2 separate regions of the Homo sapiens genome follow, and region 1 is linked to region 2. The links are contacts of gene promoters, found by promoter capture Hi-C in blood cells and fetal thymus (Javierre and others, 2016). All regions are on one chromosome and are shown on one strand. The core of a region is centred on a gene start or on the middle of the fragment in contact, and the rest is flanking DNA. Distances in the headings are between cores, read along the strand shown.

Region 1 (3,831 bases), core at 420-2,919, 290 kb after region 2:
CACAGATGAGGCCATGGGCAGCTGAGACTGAGGGCTGGAGACCCCACCTTTAGAGCCACAGGTTCCTTCATCTTCCTGTTCTACCAGCAGACCTTGTCCCCTTATGTACATCAGGGGCCGGGCATCCTCAATACCATCTGTCCCTCTATGAGACTCAGTGCCCAGCAGCTAGGAACCACCTTCCCATTCAGGGTCGAGTCTGCAGTGGACTCAGCAGTGCACAAGGTCCTACCAAGCACAGGATCAGAGTCAGCAGTGCAGAGCCTGGCCTGTGGGCACAGTGTGCACAGCCCCACTGCACACCCAGCATGGCCCTACTGTGTGGAAATGGACCTGCTGTCAACAATGAGCATTGTTTTTTCTTGGGGAACTTTTTGCAAAACCTTCCACAAGTCTCTCATGACAAGTGATCTTGGCTCACTTGTCATGCTGGCTCCAGACAGCTGAGAACAGAATATGAGCAGAGGAATCTTGAGGACTCTGCCTGGAAATAAATTAACAGTTACAATAGGCATTCCTGCACAACTGGGGAAGTGTGAGCTTGGACTGGAGAGAAGAGCATTGCTTATTATTGAGAGAGAGAGAGCAGGGGAGAGAGTCCAAAAGAGCACAAGGGGATCAGTTGCTGCTATAGCGAGAGGGGAAATGGTGCTTGCTACACTATTCTTTGATTGGTATCCATTGAACAATTTCAAAATTAAACTAGGTTTACTTTCCTCCAGAGTGTGCAGTATTTTTATTATGGCAAAATGAACAATTTTTAAACCATTTCAATCATTTGTAAGTGTGCATTCAGCAACAGTAAGTACATTCAGAATGCTTTGCAACCACCACCACTTTCCATCCCCAGAGCTTTTCCACCACTCCACAAAAACACTGTGGGCCCTTTAGACAGTGACTTTAGAAACTTTGGAGCTTGGGAACAAATTGAGGAGTGTGTGGTCTGAAGGAAGTTTCCTGTAAGGATCCAAGGAGTGTCTGCACCAATCTCCCCAGTTTCTTCAAAATCTCAGGACAGTGAGGAGGAGACACCTCATCTAGGAAACCAGATGACACACAGCCCCTGTGCCTCCTCTGGGCTGGTTTGTCCCAAAGAGAAGAGAAATTCCAGTAGGAATGCACCCTCTGAGACAGCGTTCTCCTCTCCTGGAGGACTTGTAGTTATAGTTGAGGCTCTTGTGTTTGGTTTACTGAAATGATTCCTACAATTGTTGAATGGATCCTGGAAGATGGAAGTGGATTTCTACAGACGCAGTCAGCTGGTAGTTCCATCTGCCATTGCTGTGCCAGATGAAGACCCTGATAGAACACACCACCATGCATGGCTACAGGTGCACAGCAGGCACCATCAATGCAGAAACTCATTCTATTCCTCTCAGAACAGGATCAGAAACGGTGTGCATACAAGGAGTAGACAGCAGTATAGGTTTATACTTTTATTTTTTCAACTTCATTAACTCTCCCTTCTTTTTCATGATATTGTCATAGGGGCTTTGACCATCTGAACACCCAGGAGAACCTCCTAGGGCTCTATTCTGTATTTGGATCAGATGTGCATGAGGGGGCCCTGTCTATTGGAAGCTTTGGTGAGACCCACGCATTCCTGAGAGTGCGAAACAAGCCCTAAGACCATTCATCCTGTGTAGTAGCTGAAATGTTTAGGATTGAGTTCTCTGGAGCAGCTTAGTATCTCTCACAAAATAAAGAGCACGTTATTAGATCTTACAATTCCCACCAGAAAGAAACACAAAGCTTTAAGGTCATTCTGGTGTCTAGAGGCAGCATATTTAACCCTTGGGGATGTGGCTCCAACTCATATATCAGGAGCCATGAACATCGCCCACTGTTTTGGAGCCCAGAGCAGGGAGGTTCTGCACCAGGTTCAGGCAGGGGTATGAGTGTCCTGCTGTTGGGACCACAGAATCCAGCAGACTCTACCATAGTCACAGAATTGGTGATAGGAATGGAAGAATTTATGATAGGAACTGAAAACTCATGTTTACGCAATCTCTCATGGGAAAATCCCATGAGATTTTCCCAATGGGATTCCAATCCCATGGGATTTGGAACAATTCCATGTCATCCACAAGAGAGAATTATATTCATTTGGAAAACAACTCTCCCCATGTGCTCTTGTTCCCTGGTAGATACAGGACAGCATCGGACATTCAGTGACCAAGCAGCCAGAACTGCCAGATTCCCCCGTCGTGTGCTCAGGCAGACCCCAGCAGCGATCCCTGGTGAGACAGATGTGACACAGCTAGGATGGAGCAGGAGCAGGGCCCCAGAGCTGAGTAACCTGTGGGTGGTCCACAGCCAAGTTTGCATCTCTCTTGCTCTAGCACTGCTCCCTGGGTTTACACTTACGTTGTGTGGGTAGCAGTCCCTCTGCTCAGCTGATGGAGCAAAAATTTCCAGAGTAGCCCAGCAATGAACTGGATCACCATGAAGTAGAGCACAGCTGCACTATATGGGTGTACTAAGGGGTGGCATTAAGAGACAATGGAGAGGGGACATCTTTCCTGCATGAGGGCATGGCGCCTGGTCATTCATTTTGTGAGGAAAGGTGAGTGGCCGGATGCCAGGGCAGATAGGGGCTTAGGGCAGTGGGAAATGACCTGGGCAGGTGTTCCAGGGACTGCAAGAGAAAAACTTGGAAATGGGGGAAGTGGAGTATGGGCAGAAGCCTGTGGGTGGTCTTTGGGCACGGGCACCACACAGAAGAAACTTTGAATCATAGGTTAATAGCCCATAGAGTGTCCATGATGGACATAGTGCCAAACACCCAAGTGGTCAGAAAGAAGAGATCAGGGGTGGTCAGCCACTCTGTCAGGTGACATGTGCCCCACAGCATGGGTATCCACTCGTAGGCTCTGAGAGTGTGTGGGTCGACCTTAACGTGGAGTCTAGGTGGACCCCACAGCGTCCACTCCAGCTTACACCGTTTTGAATATAAGGCTGCCAGGAGATTCAGGAACTTAAGTGCTAGGGAAATGCTGAGGACTAACCTAGGACGTCTGGGCCAAGGGGTGACCCAGGCTTCACCATATGGAACTCACATCCTTTACCACTAGATGAAAGATACGCTTTGTGTGTCCTTTCATCCAGGCCCTCTTTCACCAGCTTTATCCTGGGTTAGAAAACCCCAAAACAGCCTGTCCACACAGCCTCAAATCTCCTCCTAACCCACTCTCTGCAGAGCCTGCCTGAAGGGCTGGCATGTGGAAACCCAGGTCTTTTGCCACTACGTGCATGGGCCACTCTGTCTGCCCGTCCATTCAGGCTCTCTTTCACCAGCTTTATCCTTGGCCAGAAAAACCCCAGGATAGCCTGTCACACAGCCTCAAATCTCTTCTTAACTCACCCTCTTCACAACCTGCCTGGAGGGCTGGAGGGAAGAGCAGCCTGGGGGTCACAGAACTGGGTGAACTGGACCAGCCCTGCTCATGGCTTTGTCCACAGCCATCCTGGGGCTGGAGAAAGAGGGTGACACAGATTGGGAAGGGGTTTGTGTCTCACTTCCTAATCTGCCTGTGTCACTGTGGGCTCATCACTGTTTCTATTGTACCTGTGACAGTAATAGTCAGCCTCGTCCTCAGTCTGAGCCCTGCTGATGGTCAGGGTGGCCATGTTCCCTGAGCTGGACTCAGAAAATCAGAAATTCCTGAGGGCCGCTTGCTGCCTTCATATATCACCAGTATGGGCCTGGTCTGGCTTCTGCCAGAACCAGTAAACATACTCATCTTTGAGGTTATCTCAAGAGCAGGTGATCATGGCTGCCTGTCCTGGTGACACTGACACTGAGGGTGGCTGTGTAAGCTCATAGGAGCT
Region 2 (3,498 bases), core at 758-3,257:
TAGCACATGCCTGTGGTCCTAGCTACTCCGGGAGGCTGAGGCAGAAGGATTGCTTCAGCCCAGGAGTTAGAGGAGTGAATTATGATGGCACCATTGCACTCCAGCCTGGGTGACAGAGCAAGATCCTGTCTCTAAAAAAAAAAGAAAAAAGAAACAGAATGGCTGGATCTTAGAGGGCAGGGTCATCTTCTATATTGGTAAATATTGTCCACTGCCCCCTATGGAGGTTGTACTCAATTTGTATTCCCTGCTGCAATTAATATTGGATTTTAATACAGACACAAGAGAGCTGTGAGTTTTCAAGCTCATAGAGGCGGAATGGCAAGAGGAGAGAGCCCTGGATTTGGGGTCATGGAACTGGAATGCTGTTTTGATAACAACAACGATGATGAGAACAACAGCAACTATGACTGCAGGGGAGCTCCTGCATACCATGAGCCAGGCACCCAATATGAGAGGAATTACCTTCATGTAACAGTGGCTCTGAGAGGTTGAGTAATTTGCCCACAGCCACACAGCTTAATGACAGAATCAGAATGAAGGATTCACATCAAGGACTGTCTGGCTGCAAAATCCCAGCCCTTATAACCTCCAGGCCACACTGCTGCCCAGTGTCACCATTAACTTGCGGTCCCACCTTGGGCAGTCAGTGACCAGTCTCCCAGCTCCTCAAGGTAAATCTGACAATGGACAGACCTCCTTGATTCACCTGCTTTACTTCTAGGCATGAGTGTAGAGTGGGGAGAGCTGATGTGGCTGCAGGGCCAGGAGAGCACTGCAGACGTAATGACTCTCTACCTTAGGGAAGCTGGCGATGACACGGTCGCGGCTCACAGGGGGCCCCAAAGGTGTCAGGGAGGACCTCATTCTTCCACAGTCCTGTGGACCCAACCAGGAGAAAGACAGTTAAGGAGCTGTGCAAATACCTGGGGATTCACCCATGAGTTTCCACCTAACTTTTCATCAGATCCAGGCTGGGTGCAGTGGCTCATGCCTGTAATCCCAGCACTTTGGGAGGCCAAGGTGGGAGGATCACTTGGGCCCAGGAGGTTGAGACCAGCCTGGGCAACAAAGTGAAACCTCAGTCTCTACAAAAAAAAACCAAAAAAATTAGCAGGGCATGGTGGCCTGTGCCTGCAGTCCCAGCTACTTGGGAGGAAGGTGGGAGGAATGCTTGAGCCTGGGAGGTCAAGGGTGCAGTGAACCGTGAAGGTGCCACTGCACTCCAGCCTGGGTGATAGAGTAAGACCTTGTCTCAAGAATTATAAATAAAACCAGATCCAGGCTTCCCTCTCTGTCAGGAATATGGGGCAGAGGCCATTTCTCTCAATCTGCATACAGCAGGCAGCATGGTATGGGGGAACCAGGCCTGCCCCACCCTGCCTGGGAGTCAGAAGACCTGGGTCTCCCCTTGACAGGTGTCTACCAAGGAGGAGCTCCCCTCTGAGCTTACCTTACTGGGCTGTGAGGCATGGCACAGCTCAGGCAGTGGAAGTAGAGTGGGGAGGGGTCTCCTGCTCCCAGTCTGCAAAGGACGAAGGCTCTAGGTGGGCCTGGGGGCCTTAACTTTCAGCCAACTAGGCCTTTTCCCTGAAAACCCTCACTTCACCAGGCCTCTGACTCCTCGAGCCTCCTCAACAGCCCCTCTGTCTCCTTTTTCTGTCCGGACTCCTCTCCAGGCTGGGCTGGGGTGGTCCTGGCGGAGTCCGGTTGTCTTCCCGCATCTGACCTGGCTCTCCTCCACAACCAGCGCGGGCCTGGCCCAGAGTTTGCGCTCCGGAAATGAGGACGCCCCGGGGCCGCAGGCCGCTTTCAAGTTATAGGGGCGGGAAGTGGGCGCGGACGCTGTGCCCTCGCGGCCCTGGCCTCGGGATGTGCCAGCACGGGGTTGGGTGACCGGGAGGGTCGGACAGAGTGGGCGAGCTGACTCACCAGCGATGGCTGTGAAAGCTGGGGCTCCGCGCGGCCTGGTCCGCCTGAGCCAGCGGCGGCGATCACCATGGCAACGAGAGCCACGCGGGACCTGCGGGCTACACGAATCGTCGACGTCGTGGGCGGGGTCTGCGTTGGACTGGCAGCGGCGCGTCCAAGCATCCAGCTTGCACCGGCGATCACCATAGCAACGAGAACCTGCCTGGAGTCTGGGCGGGGCTGGCAGCAGAGAGACTCCTGGACACCCTGGAGAGCCGGAGATCACCATGACAACAAGGGCGGTGCTGGATGGGTGGGCGGTGGGCGGGGCTATGGAGGCCCGGGGGCGGAGCCTGAGCCCTGGGTGGGGCTGACCGTGGAGAGATTCGCGCAGGTTCTGGTGATCAGCTCGGCTGGGAGAGGTTGGGCGGTTATGGCATAAGAGCTCCTGATGTGGTATTGATGTTTAATTGGAGTCAAGCACCCTGCAGCTGCAGAAGATAGACCTGCCTACCATCTACTGACCTTAGTCTGCATAGTTCTGAATCCAGTGCTGTCTGAATATCATATGCCTGGCTTCTAGAGCTCACGGTACAAAATTAATTTCCTTAATAAAAAGCTGACCTGAGTCAGTGATTTCCTCTGAACTAGTTTCGGTTTGGAAAGTTAGCTGTTTTGGGCTAGATGGCCTCTTGTGGCCCTTATAAAACCGTGGAACCAGCTTCGAAGTCCGGGGTTCAGTTTGAGAACCTACTTAATTCAGCTCCTTAACTTTTCTGCATCACAATATGGAAGCCTTGGTACACAGATCTAACTCAGTCATCTTCAATTCAAAGCTAAGTGTGCTGGAGGCTGGTGTTTGATGTCTTTTTTTTTTTTTTTTAAAGAGATGGAGTCTTGCTATGTTGTCCAGGCTGGACTCGAACTCCTAGGCTCAAGGAATCCTCCCGCCTCAGCCTCCCCAGTCCTTGGGACTACAGGCAAGGGCCACCACACCTGGCTCTGTTTAATGTCTTTTAGTGAGTTTCACTGCTAAGGTTGAGGCTTAGGGGGTGAACTTAGGTGAGTTGTTCCACCTTCCGCACCTCAGTTTACTCAACTATAAAATAAACGCAACTATCTATTTCAATGGATCACCTGAGATGGTGAAAGTGCTTTTATACTGTAAAGCTTGATTCAAGTCCATTAACTATTCATTTGTCCTACATGTACTGAAAGCTTCCTGGTATATGCCTAGCACTGGGGAGACAAGGAAAGAGAACGGACATGGTGTCCACCCTCAGGGAAATTGGAGTCCACTGCGGGAAGCAGAGAAGTAAATAGAGAATTAGGGGAAGGGAGTGTGCCAATGGGATTTAGGAGAAGGGAAGATTAAGCTGTGGGGTCACTTACTAATTTGGATTTGGGGATTTGGCAGGAGCTAGAGATCACCCTGAACTCCTCCTTTAGCTGTTTTTTTTTTTTTTTTTTTTTTTTTTTTGAGATGGAGTCTCACTCTGTCGCCCAGGCTGGAGTGCAGTAGTGTGATCTCGGCTCACTGCAATCTCCGCCTCCCGGCTCAAGCGATTCTCCTGCCTCAGCCTCCCG

Evidence for each region. Contacts are between HindIII fragments. The CHiCAGO score rates a contact against its expected background, and 5 or more counts as called.
Region 1: a fragment that was not itself captured here is called in contact with the fragment with the promoter of RAB36 in region 2 in 1 of 17 cell types (megakaryocytes); the score reaches 6.5 in megakaryocytes.

Annotation. Positions count from the first base shown.
Region 1 is chr22:22,850,370-22,854,200 of GRCh38, reverse strand. All of the region lies in intron 2 of LOC105372948 (a long non-coding RNA gene), which reads left to right. It also overlaps IGL and the pseudogene IGLV3-6. Among named protein-coding and RNA genes, the nearest start is that of MIR650, 30 kb to the right of the region's middle. The HindIII fragment of the contact is 171 bases long and covers 1,584-1,754 here.
Region 2 is chr22:23,143,986-23,147,483 of GRCh38, reverse strand. It overlaps RAB36 (RAB36, member RAS oncogene family), which reads right to left and starts at 2,007. Exons shown (of 11, transcript NM_004914.5): 1 at 1,933-2,007; 2 at 799-879. The coding sequence starts at 867. It also overlaps a transcript of RSPH14 not described here. RefSeq lists a silencer at 2,185-2,254. The HindIII fragment of the contact is 8,574 bases long and covers 1-3,083 here.